2 separate regions of the Homo sapiens genome follow, and region 1 is linked to region 2. Evidence: promoter capture Hi-C in human tissues and cell types (Jung and others, 2019). All regions are on one chromosome and are shown on one strand. The core of a region is centred on a gene start or on the middle of the fragment in contact, and the rest is flanking DNA. Distances in the headings are between cores, read along the strand shown.

Evidence for each region. The method cuts DNA at HindIII sites, captures the fragments that hold promoters and counts their contacts. A contact is called where the count stands out against the background at its distance.
Region 1: a contact is called between a fragment that was not itself captured here and the fragment with the promoter of ASRGL1 in region 2, in 2 of the 25 tissues and cell types used here (H1 embryonic stem cells and lymphoblastoid cells).

Annotation. Positions count from the first base shown.
Region 1 is chr11:62,188,923-62,195,462 of GRCh38, forward strand. It overlaps SCGB1D1 (secretoglobin family 1D member 1), which reads left to right and starts at 1,294. Exons shown (of 3, transcript NM_006552.2): 1 at 1,294-1,417; 2 at 3,134-3,321; 3 at 4,477-4,617. The coding sequence starts at 1,363. The coding sequence ends at 4,506. RefSeq lists an enhancer at 3,348-3,848. The HindIII fragment of the contact is 4,142 bases long and covers 2,705-6,540 here.
Region 2 is chr11:62,334,953-62,341,446 of GRCh38, forward strand. ASRGL1 (asparaginase and isoaspartyl peptidase 1) reads left to right here and starts at 2,496. Exons shown (of 7, transcript NM_001083926.2): 1 at 2,496-2,622; 2 at 2,938-3,215. The coding sequence starts at 3,026. RefSeq lists an enhancer at 2,407-3,076. The HindIII fragment of the contact is 36,513 bases long and covers 1-6,494 here.

The sequences.
Region 1 (6,540 bases), core at 3,526-6,025, 140 kb before region 2:
CCTTCATAAAGGTCTTTCTGGGTGGTTCTCAGTACTGCTGCCCATCAGACCCACCAGAGCAGTTTAAACAGAAGAGGACCTCGCCCTAGAACTACTGAATCAAAATCCCCAGAAAGGGAAGCAGCCTGCGGGGAGTCAGTATAGTTTAAGAGCCCCAAGTGATTTGATTGCAGAGCAGAGAATGGAAAGCTCTGGCCTGGGCTGTGACTGTTCTCAAATGTGTGTTCACTTAAGAGCCAAATTTCTGGTGATTTCCTACTCACCAAATGATGGCACTGCAGTGGAAGGGCAGAAGGGTGTCTATTGCTTTTGCTGGGGATGGCCTTCGCTTTCCATCAACAATGAGATGACCCAGGCAGCAGAGCTGGGTTAGAAGTGGAAAACTTGAGCCCAGAGGTTAGAGGGAAGTGACCACCCACCCTGTTCATCCATCTCTTCCTTTCCATTATCGTCCCTGCCTAGAAGCGAAGACCAGTATTTCTGATGCCTGTTTGCCTCCAGACACCCCAGCAGCTCCTTGGGTAAAAAAAGTTGGGCAATTTAATCATCCCATCAGCCCTATGAGGAGATATGGGTGGCTAGAGGTCACTGGAGGCTTGCTTTTAGTAGACAGAAAATTTGAACCTGTGCTATGTTGACAACTCCACCCATAAATAAAGACACAGATCTTGGAGTGAGACAGAGTAGAGGACAGGGGGAGTGGTTGTTTTCCCCAAGGAAATCCTCCAAAGGTGGGGTGTATGCAGCTATGTTTTAGGTACCTATGTGGTGAAGATGGTGGGGATGGAAGGGGCTGAGTGGGAGGATAGGTCTGGTTCAGACTTGATCTATGTGCAGCTGAAACACGTGTGGCTGATTGTCAGACATGCAGTGGAGGTCAAAGTGGGGTCTCTTCTGTGCCTGCTCTCCTATAACCAAACCACAGCCCCTAGCTTCCTGCACCCCCGGTTTCTGTCCTCCTGAAATGAGAACTCACATTTGCCCTTGCACTGACATAAAGAACAGAGAGATAATCCTCAAAAGCCCAAAAGCAAACTGAGGTTCCAGGGAACATTGCCAGAGGCACCTGGACACTCACCTGGAGCACAGAGCAGAGTTTCTGCAGGGCTGCCCTCCCGTGCTCCGCCCCACTCAGGATGCAGGGAGGTGTGGGGATGTGACACTGATGGATGGCAGCAGCCCTGGCTAGGAAGGGAGGGCTGGAAGCCAGGCCTCATCACCTGCCAGATGCCCATGTGGGCAGGACCAGCCAGGCTCCCTAGGTACAAATAGCCCTGGGCTCCACGGCTCCACAGGCTCCCGGGGCTGAGTCTAAATCACTCATCATTGGTTAAAGCCGAGCTCACAGCAGAATAAGCCACCATGAGGCTGTCGGTGTGTCTCCTGCTGCTCACGCTGGCCCTTTGCTGCTACCGGGGTGAGTACATCAGTCATGAGTCCAGCACCAGCCCTTGGGACACACCCTTCTCTGAGCACGAGGTCACCTATTAAGGTTAAGGTTGGGGTCTGGAACAAACCAAAATTCCAAACCTTATCCTGTGCTTGTTGAAGGAACTGCTCATAAAGCTCGGGCCTCATTTCATCAAATCCCCAGTACCTAGGAAGTTTTGCAGAAAATCAATGCAGGCGAACGTTAGGAATTCTGCCTGAGCTTCACTCTTGGATGGGATCTGTGTCAGATGATGTAATGTGAGGTCTGGGGTGACTCTGGGCTCAGCCACTTCTCAGCCCTTTCACCGTGGGCAAGATGCTCACCCTCCCCGCGCCTCCTCCTATCTCTGGTGCTTAGAGCTTCTTCCGGGAGTGGCAATGGGAATGGAGTGGGATTATTGTGCCAAGGGTCTAGCTGTGGATGTGAAGCCAATCACTGTACTGTCAGACATTCTCGTCCCCAGACCTTTAGGTGCCAATTGAGCTCACAGCTTCTTACATTGTAAATTCAGACTCATAAAATGTTACATCTCGAAGGATCCTTGGAGAACTCTCAGTCCAAGAAGAGATGGTGCTTTCTGATTCTCTCAATAAGAAGCCTGCAAATGAATTCTTAGAATAAGCAGCACTCAATATATCTTCTAGGGGTCCTACCGTAATGGTGGTAGAAATACTACAATGGTTAGCCTCAGAACTTCTATTTTTCTAAAATTAATTCTGGCTGATTTTTCCCCAGTTCATTTGGGTACTTTCCTTTCCCCTGTCAGGACCGATCCAGACTCTGATTTTTCTCTTTCCTCTTCTTTTCTGAACCTCTCCCTGTTTCCCTGTGACACCCCGATCCTACCCTCTCCAAATTCTCCCCACAGTTTGAAGTCGGGTAGTCAGGGGTCATGTTGAGCATGGTGGGGCGCTTTCTGGATGCATGGTGTTTGCAAAAGACTTAGGTGAATGGAGATTCCAGACCAAGCAAAATGATTACTCCAGGTCTTTCCAAAATTCCCAGTGGGAGCAGGAATGAGCCTCAGTTCCCTCCTCTCATCCTCTCCAAATATTCTAGATGCTGCTGCAGAATATGGGCCAAGTACAATTTCCTGTATAAGCTTCTAATGTGTGTTAAAACTGATTCACATTATTTTATTTTGTTTTAATTTGTTTACCTTTTAGCTCTGTCTGTATTGAATCACATAAGCCTAAATTCTACAACTTGTTCTCAAAACATCACCTTCAACATTTCAATAATTTTAACTTCTTCTGTTCCAGATTTACTCATTTCTCTAATTTCTGATAGGATTCTGACTCTACCATTCCACTTCAAAATTTGATTACTCAAAGCCTCCTCTTCACCAATGTCCAAGACTAATAAAGTGTCACTTAACTGGCATAGAAAAGTGATTATTTTCAAATCTAGAAAAGAGAACGTTGGCCATCCATCCAGAGAAGCTTTGGAAAGTAATGAGTGTGCTTTAAAAAAAAAACAAAGACTGAATGAGTGATCAGGAAGTTGGTTCTCCAGTTCTAGCTCTACCCTTTGCTGTGTGACCTCAAGGAAGTCACAACCTCCTGGGTCTGACATTGTCATTGGCATAGTTATTGAATAGAAGCCTAAAACCCTGGGGTTCCTGTCTGGTCTGACATCAGGGAGGCATGGGAGAAACACTGATTTCCTTACACAAATTATATTTTTATTCTTTTGCTCCAGCAAATGCAGTGGTCTGCCAAGCTCTTGGTTCTGAAATCACAGGCTTCTTATTAGCTGGAAAACCTGTGTTCAAGTTCCAACTTGCCAAATTTAAGGCACCTCTGGAAGCTGTTGCAGCCAAGATGGAAGTGAAGAAATGCGTGGATACGATGGCCTATGAGAAAAGAGTGCTAATTACAAAAACATTGGTAATTTCTGTCTCTTTCATGTGTCCAGGCTTCTGGTCAGCGGCACAGTGTGAAGTGAGGTCAGCTTGCTTGCTGCTCTGTGAGGGACACAGGTGGTGGGGCACCTGCCTTACTGGTCACCGCTTGAGAAGGTCACCTGGGACCACAGGGTGGGTGCTACCATTTCACCTGCAGAATTCAACTCAGCTGCACACAGCCTCCTGCATGTTCCTCCTTCTCAGGTCACCTACCTGGATGCCGTGTCCCCAGAGTGTGCTGAGGACATGGGGAGTGAGCCTGGGTCCAGGCAGGGGTGGTGAAGGGCCAAGCACAACTGTCTCTCCACCTGGGGACTTTCCTGAGGCCAAGTGGACCTCACACAGTCACTGTGGAATGTACTGGGGAGTGTGGGAGCCTTGAACAGGGAGAAGAAGGCAGGGAGGGACCTAGAGCAGGGGCTCCTGCAGATGCTGCGCTGGAGGGCTGGACTTCTCTGCAGCTTCTGCAGAACCAGGAAGGAGCCCCTCCCAGCTCCTCAGACTCCACGCTCCCCTCCTCACCCACGATGCTCTCCTGACCACGGCCAGTGGGCCAAGACCCTCGCTACTCTACCTCCTGCAGTGCCATGGAAGCGGGATGTTCTCACTCTGTCTTTCTCAAGAAATCAGAGGTTTTCCAGGGGCCTCTCAGCCTGGCTGCCTCTGGGTTGCTGTCCTGAGGTTTAGCTGCAAATGCTCATGGAAGCTGCAGGCTCAGGATTGAGGTGCTCAGGCCCTGAGGCAGAATTCCCACATGGGGAGGCTGGAGTCTCCTGGAAGCCAAGCTTCCCAGAGGCCCTCCCAGCCCTGACCAACCTCTCAGCACTGGGTCTTTCATTGCGGGGAACAGGAGACTCCAAGTCCTGGGACAGCCCAGACAATAACCTCTTGCTGCTCTGCTCTGTCCCCCCTCTATGAGGACCCTGGGCCTTATGCTTGTGTCCCCCCAGGGCTATTGGCCTGGCAAGGAAAGGCTGGTCTAGGTCTAGGCCCTGGTTTCCCACACACACTGGGTTCCTGCCTCTACCCTTCAATTGTCTTTGGGAGCAGAATTCCATCGGCCACTTGGATGTTAACCTGTTGTCTCCAGGAGCTGCATGACCGACCTCACCTTCCTTTCTTTCCTTTTCTATTTCAGGGAAAAATAGCAGAGAAATGTGATCGCTGAGATGTAAAAAGTTTTTAATGCTAGTTTCCACCATCTTTCAATGATACCCTGATCTTCACTGCAGAATGTAAAGGTTTCAACGTCTTGCTCTAATAAATCACTTGCCCTGAACTTCTCCACTGGTCGTGTTATCCTGCAGTCTTGGGCCTTGAGTTGAGAGTGGTTTCCATAGGGGAGTGGCCTTTGGCTGACAATCAACTCCAGAGAACCAGCATCCCGTTATCAATGGGGCCTGAGTCCAGGCATCCCAGAAGGAAATATTTGGTAGGAATCATCCTGCATTCCTTACAGATTTTCCATCCTGCAGCCGTAAATGAAAACCATGGTAATGAGGACACAGGAATTACAATGTTCCTGCTGGTCTTGTACTGAGGGAACCCCAAGCCTGCCTGATTGTCCAGGCCCAGGGTTCCCACCTAGCAGGGACCCTAGTGGATGTCCCCTCAGACCCACAGTCAGCCTGCTTGGTGCCACCTCTGCACTGTGGTTTATCTCCCCTCTCATGTCCAGTATACTTTCTTTTCCATTTACCATAATTTGAGGACATCTCCAGGTTTCAACCTGGATTTCACATTTGTTCACTCCCCACACTCAGAGGACTCCTCAGCGTCTGCATCACTCACCAGCACCTGAGGTGAATGCTTCCTTCCCTCCCTCAAGCCACCCCAAGAGCTCCAGAGACCAGCACCCCCTGCCAATTGGACAGCTCCAAGCGCACATTCCACACTCATTTCAGGAGCAGGATGTAAAACTGAACACAGGGTCCGCCCTCAACCTGCTCTCCCTTCCATGAGCCCATCCAGGCTAAGGCACCCACCCAGCAAGTCCCCTGACCAGGACACAGGGAGACGCCACAGGTTCCTGGCTTGGTGTTCTGTGTCTGCTGCAAAAAACCTCCACAAGCTTGGTGACTTAAAACAACTGATTCGGCTGGGTGGGGTGGCTCACACCTGTAATCCCAGCACTTTGGGAGTGCAAGGCAGGCAGATCACAAGGTCAAGAGATCGAGGCCATCCTGGCCAACATGGTGAAACCCCGTCTCTACTAAAAATACAAAAATTAGCTGGGCATAGAGGCGCAAAACTGTGGTCCCAGCTACTCAGGAGGCTGAGGCAGGAGAATTACTTGCACCTGGGAGGCGGAGGTTGCAGTGAGCCGAGATCGTGCCACGGCACTCCAGCCTGGCGACAGAGTGAGACTCCGTCTCAAGAAAACAAAACAAAACAAAAACTGTGGGGAAAAGCAAGAGAGATCAGATTGTTACTGTGTCTGTGTAGAAAGAAGTAGACATAGGAGACTCCATTTTGTTCTGTACTAAGAAAAATTCTTCTGCCTTGAGATTCTGTTAATCTATAACCTTACCCCCAACCCCGTGCTCTCTGAAACATGTGCTGTGTCAACTCAAGAGTTAAATGGATTAAGGGCAGTGCAAGATGTGCTTTGTTAAACAGATGCTTGAAGGCAGCATGCTCCTTAAGAGTCATCACCACTCCCTAATCTCAAGTACCCAGGGACACAAAAACTGCGGAAGGCCGCAGGGACCTCTGCCTAGGAAAGCCAGGTATTGTCCAAGGTTTCTCCCCATGTGATAGTCTGAAATACGGCCTCGTGGGAAGGGAAAGACCTGACCATCCCCCAGCCCGACACCCGTAAAGGGTCTGTGCTGAGGAGGATTAGTATAAGAGGAAGGCATGCCTCTTACAGTTGAGACAAGAGGAAGGCATCTGTTTCCTGCCCGTCCCTGGGCAATGGAATGTCTCGGTATAAAACCTGATTGTACGTTCTATCTACTGAGATAGGGCAAAACTGCCTTAGGGCTGGAGGTGGGACATGCGGGCAGCAATACTGCTTTGTAAAGCATTGAGATGTTTATGTGTATGCATATCTAAAAGCACAGCACTTAATCCTTTACCTTGTCTATGATGCAAAGACCTTTGTTCACGTGTTTGTCTGCTGAACCTCTCCCCACTATTGTCTTGTGACCCTGACACATCCCCCTCTCAGAGAAACACCCACGAATGATCAATAAATACT
Region 2 (6,494 bases), core at 1,246-3,745:
TACTCCTCCCTTCAAAAATCCCTCTAAAATGATAGTAAACAATCTTAAAAAGAATACTACCCACAAAGACAGGAAGAATGGGAGAGATGACAATGGCAGGTAAAAAAGGTCACTTTGGAAGATGAATAACAAATGGCAGATTAAAGGAAGTTGTAATCTACTTGAGAGGTGAATCCATTTGTTCTGGAGAACGCTTGAGAGACTCAGGGCTTAGACACACAGGAATCTCAAAGATGGGGAGGCAGGAGTGGCAGGTGTTCCCAGTTGTCTCTCCAATAGCCTGTCACCCTTCCTTCTTGCCAAGAGACCTTGATTTTATCCAGGGCCATGATGTACCCTGCTAAAATAAAAACTCAGACTCTCTTGCCACTAGGGGCAGCCCCCCAATCCAGTTCTGGCCAATAAAAGTCCACTTGGAGGACTTCTAGGAAAGCTAGAGAGCTTTCCTGAATTAAAGGAACAAAGGGGAGCTGGCAAAAGCCTTCTTCCCTTTGCCCTTCCCCATTCCTTCTGCCCCAATAGTGATCAAGGTGCCTAGGAGCACCATAAATGTGAAAGCCACATGCTGAAGGGAAGAGAAGGAGATGGGACATCTGTGTCACCTTGGAGCTGCTGCACCAGCCTGGGCAGCAACCACTAGATGTCTTGTTGTTGTTGTTGTTGTTGTTGTTGTTATTGTTGTTTTCAAATCAACAGTTATCTGGTTAAACCACTGTGGTCACGTTTCGTCAGGGACAGTTGAATACAATCCTTAATCCATAAAATGATTGTTGATGGAACATCGTCTACAGAGGAGTTAGCCAGATTCCTTCTCCTATCCCACAGAGCCGGACAAAAAGATGCTTCCTCTTTCCTCCTCAAAGACCAGAAGTTTATTTTCTAGAGAATTTATCTAAGAGACTTTGGATTGGGATGGGGAATACGAAGCCCATCAGAGAAGTAGATAAACGCATGAGGCTGAGATGGGAGGATCAAATGGAAACCAACATTCTACCTGCTTGGGCCACCAGCCACCTTCCCCAGCCTCAGCCAGATCACTGAATTCCAGATCAATCAGGAAAAACAGTAGAGATGGGGTTTGAGTTAGGGCTAGGCATAGGGTAGGGTTCAGGTTCCTATAAATAGCTGAAACCAAATGATGGTGAGCTGTATTATGATGACACAACTAGGCTCACGACCAGTTGAGACGTGCTAAAATAACCCTCTTCCAAGAGGTGAGTGTGGGAGACAGAATAACGGCCCTCAAAGGTGTCACATCCGAATCTCCACCTGTGAACACTCCTCACATGGCAAAAGGGACTTTGCAGATGAGAATAGAAATTGTAAGAAAGGGAGATTATCCTGGGTTATCTGGGTGGGCCCAATGTCATCCCAAGGGACTTCCTTTAAGAAGGAGGCAGGAGAGTCAGAGTCAGAAAAGAAAATCGTGATGATGGTGACAGAGAGAGAAGTGACGTAGCAGCAGAAACAGGCCAGAGGGAGAGAGAGTTAAAGATGCTAGGCTGTTGGCTTTGGCAATGGAGGATGAGGCCATGAGCCAAGGATACAGGCAGCTTGTAGAAGCAAGAAAAGACAGATTCTCTTCTGGAGCTTCCCGAAGGAACTCAACCCTGCAGACCCAGTTTGAATTTCTGACCACCAGAACTGTAAGATAATGTGTGTTGTTTGAAGCCAATAAATTTGTGGTAATCTCTAACAATAGGTCACTAGAAAGGGAATGACTGATCCTTAGTGGGGTGCCAGGGAGAAGGCTTTGCAGGAGGGGTTCATTTAAACTGGGCCTTAAGGCAGGAAACGAAGGTAAAACAGGAGTAAAGGGAATTCCCAAGAGTGGTAAAATATGTTATCAGTTGTGGGTAAACAAGAAGGGAAAGGACTCTCCTATCCACAGGAGATCAATCACAGTTTGCCTGGATCTGTCCCTGTTTATGCCCATTGTCCCAGTATAATTTTTTTTTCTTTTGATTCGGAGTTTCACTCTTGTTGCCCAGGCTGGAGTGCAATGGCGCGATTTCCACTCACCGCAACCTCCGCCTCCCAGGTTCAAACGATTCTCGTGCCTTAGCCTCCAGAGTAGCTGGGATTACAGGCATGCGCCACCACGCCCAGCTAATTTTGTGTTTTTAGTAGGGACAGGGTTTCTCCGTGTTGGTCAGGCTGGTCTCGAACTCCCGACCTCAGGTGATCCGTCCGCCTCGGCCTCTCAAAGTGCTGGGATTACAAGGCATGAGCCACTGCGCACAGCCTAGCGTTGCTTTTCAATCTGCAATTACAAAATCGTGGCATGCCACTTCACGCTTCTCGCCACCAACCCAACCACCCAGCCCCTAGCCTGGTCAGGAGCAGGAGGTTCCCCGCGTGCCACCAGGAAGCTCGGGCCGGCCAAGAGCGTAGACTCTTGAGAGGAGTGAGACAGGTGCGCGCCAGCCGGCCTTCGGGGCTTTATGGGAACTGGGCCGTGCGGCGGTCCCGCCCTCGTGCGCAGGCGCAGAACCGTTGTGACCAGAGCGGTTGCGGGCTGAGCGGTTTCGAGCCGGCGTCGGGGAGCGGCGGTACCGGGCGGCTGCGGGGCTGGCTCGACCCAGCTTGAGGTCTCGGCGTCCGCGTCCTGCGGTGCCCTGGGTAAGTCGGCGGCCCTCCCGGAGCAGCCGCCCGAGACGCGGGAGGGCGAATGAAATAAACGAAAATAGACATTTTCCCGAAGGCGAAATAGACATCCTCCTTCGGCGCCGGGGCTTGGAGGCGGGCGGCGGTGGGCGCGGGTTAACGTCCCCGGGGAAACTGAGACCCCCAGCAGGTCCGGGCCGGGGGCGGAGAGGAACGCGGGAGGGCGCCGGGCCCCTGGGCTTTTCGTACCAAGCTCGACCGAGCCGCCCCTACCCACCCCCAGCTGCGAACCCAGCCGTTCAGAACAGAGACTGGGCATTGTCCCCACAGGGTCTCCCGAGGACCTTGTACCCGCGCGGCTTCCTTGGGCTGGCTTTGGACGACGCTTTCGCCTTCCTGCTGCCTAGGATCCGCCGACATGAATCCCATCGTAGTGGTCCACGGCGGCGGAGCCGGTCCCATCTCCAAGGATCGGAAGGAGCGAGTGCACCAGGGCATGGTCAGAGCCGCCACCGTGGGCTACGGCATCCTCCGGGAGGGCGGGAGCGCCGTGGATGCCGTAGAGGGAGCTGTCGTCGCCCTGGAAGACGATCCCGAGTTCAACGCAGGTAAATGTGCCTTTCAGCTAGTAAATAATGTGAGTCAGGTCAAGCTCCTTCTTCAGAATAAATAGAACCTACATAGTGTTAGGGAATCTAATGAGCTTTGGGGTGAAACTAAGTATGTAAAAAAGAAACAATATTTAATTTTTCTACCTGTGCTGAAAAGAGTCAAACGCTAAAATATTTGTAGAGATTTATACTGAGGCAAATATGAGTGACCAATGGCCTCTGATACAGCTCTTGGGAAATCCTGAGAATGTGTGCTTCTGGAGAGACATAAGATGTCAATCAGTACATACAAGACATACATTGGTTCCATCTGGAGAGGTGAGACTACTGGGGGAGGGGGAGTGGTTTCCAGGTCATAGTTAAGATTCAAAGATTTTCTGATGAACAATTGATTTAAAGTTTTGTCCAAACACCTGGAATCCACAGAAGGGAATGTCTGGATTATATAAGGACTTGTGGCTGCAGATAGAATTAATAGAAGGCGGTTTAGCACGGTGGCTCACGCCTGTAATCCCAGCACTTTGGGAGGCCAAGGCGGGTGGATCACCTGAGGTCAGGAGTTCGAGACCAGCCTGGCTAACAGGTGAAAAGCCACCTCTACTAAAAATACAAAAGAAAAAAAAAAAAAGCCAGGCGTGGTGCTAGGAGCCTGTAACCCCAGCTACTCGGGAGGCCGAGGCAGGAGAATAGCTTGAACCTGAGAGGCAGAGGTTGCAGTGAGCCGAGATCACTCCAGCCTGGGCGACAGAGCGAGACTATCTCAAAAAAAAAAAAAAAAACTGAAAAAAGAAGGGAATGTCTGCATTAAGATAAGAGGTTGAGGAGACCAAGATTTCCCTTAGGCAGAGGAAGTCTCCAGGTAGCAGTCTATTGAGAGAATAAATTGTAAATGTTTCTTATCAGAGTTGATTCTCTCCTGAATCAGGAAAAAGGCCTAGAAAAGGAAGGGGATTCTCTTCAGAATGTAGATTTTCCCCACAAGAGATAGCTTTAGCTTTGCAGGACTATTTCAAGATATGGCGAAGAAACGTAATTTGGGGTAAAATACTTCACTTTCAGGGCTTGCTATCTGTCATGTGATGTCATACTAGAGTCCCGCTGGAATTTGGTATCTTATTGCTACAAAGTCTGCTTTGTCAGTCTTAAGATCTGTTTTAATGTTAGTGCTGGTCAGCTGGGCCTGAATTCCAAAAGGGAGGAGGGAATAATGAGGCATGTCCTACCTCCCCCGACAAGGTTCCAAAGTTTTCAGGTTAACTTTGGAGTGCAGAGTGTATTCCTTTGTGTTTCGCTTCTTTCACTCAGTCCACCCTTTTTTGGAATACTAATCATTATAGCTAATATGAGTATCTACCATGTATCAGGCAGTGGTCTAAGAAATTTGCTTGATTTATTGAATCTGAACATTAAATGAGTTGATCATGTAACTCTCTTAAGTTGGTTAACTTGTGTTAAACTAACTCAAGTTAACTCATAATGAACATTAAATGATTCACTTATGAGTTAATCACTTAAACTCAGTTGAGTTAAATGAGTTAGGTATAAGTTAGGCATAATTATTATCCTCATTTCTCAGATCAGACTAAGGCATAAACAGATTAACTTGGTGGAAGACATTCATCTCTTTGTTTTAAAATGGCAAACCTAAGATCTAGGCTAGAGATTGAAATACTTCCTGGAATTATACCACCCATCTGTCAGGGAAAAGAATTTCAGGAAATCTTAATTAATCATCAAATATTTACTCTTGTTCTGTCCCCTTTACGCAGCACTCTTTAACACTTGTGAAAAATTGTGTAATTCTTCCTGAGACCGGTGCAGTGGCTCACGCCTGTAATCCCAGCACTTTGGAAAGCTGAGGTGGGCGGATCACTTGAGCTCAGGAGTTCAATGCCAGGCTAGGCAACATGGCAAAACCCCATCTCTACAAAAAAAAAAAAATACAAAAATCAGCTGAGCGTGGTGGCACAAGCCTGTAGCCGCCGCTACTCAGGAAGCTGAGGTAGGAAGATTCCTTGAGCCCCAGGAGGTCAAGGCTGCAATGAGCCAAGACTGCGCCACTGCACTCCAGCCTGGGTGACAGAGTGAGACTCTGTCTCTGAAAATAAAATTAAGTTCATCTGAATTTAAAATGAGACCTAATAGTGTGCTTTCATGGCTCCATTTGTAGAGCCAGAATTTACCAGATAGGCACTGACTTTGCCAGCAGAGGGAGCAGCCAGCTCTTTCTGTGGGTGACTTGTTAAACCTTACGCTTCTTAGCACTCAGCACCCCCTGGGCTGTCAAACCCTCACTTATTTACACAGGACCTTCATTTGAAATGGGTCATTCTGGTTTCCGACCATCTCTTATTCTAACAATTTGTCATCTGCATGCATTGGGAAGCACAGATTAGGGAATTGGAGCAGCTAGTTCTCATTTTTTTGCTCTGTATCCAGAGGCCTTCCTTCTCAACGTCTGCCCTCTCATCTTTCAAATGTCCTCTATTCCGCATATTGAGGAAGAAAAGAGTAGAGCTGAAAAGAGGGAAAGCAAAGATTATGGGGGGAAAGGTGGGACTTTTAACAGCGTACTGTGGACCTTGGCTTTTCCCAGCCAAGGTCACTACCGGCAAGCAATATTCCCAGCATCCTCTGCTATAATCCTCTAGAATAAATAACTGTTTGGGAACTTCATACAAAAAGCTGACTCCCAGTAGGTATTGAGTTCAGTGGCAGTAATTAGCATTCATGACACAACTTGCCTGAACATTTGTAAAAACATTATGTTTATTTACATTCTATTCCTGTTTCAGTGTGCATTTGACTTTATGTCAAATTGAAAAGTGGTTGATTTTTAGATACCAACACTGTAAAGACTGAACTTTTAAATTTGAATGCTAGGAATATTCTTTAAAAACTTACTTAGATTGGCAACCAAATGACCATTTGCTTTCACTGGAGCTCAGCGATATTTACACAGCACTTGAGATATTCTCTCTACAATTCAATTTACAAGCTATTAGAGAATCTTTGAGATAACAGGATTTTTTTTTTTTTTTTTTTTGAGACTGAGTCTCGCTCTGTCACCCAGGCTGGAGTGCAGTGGCACAGTTTCGGCTCACTGCAAGCTCCACCTCTCAGGTTCAAGCGATTCTCCTGCCTCAGCCTCTCGAGTAGCTGGGACTATAGGCACCCACCACCAGGACCAGCTAATTTTTAGTATTTTTAGTAGAGACGGGGTTTCACTGTGTTAGCCAGGATGGTCTTGGATCTCCTGACTTCATGATCCGCCCA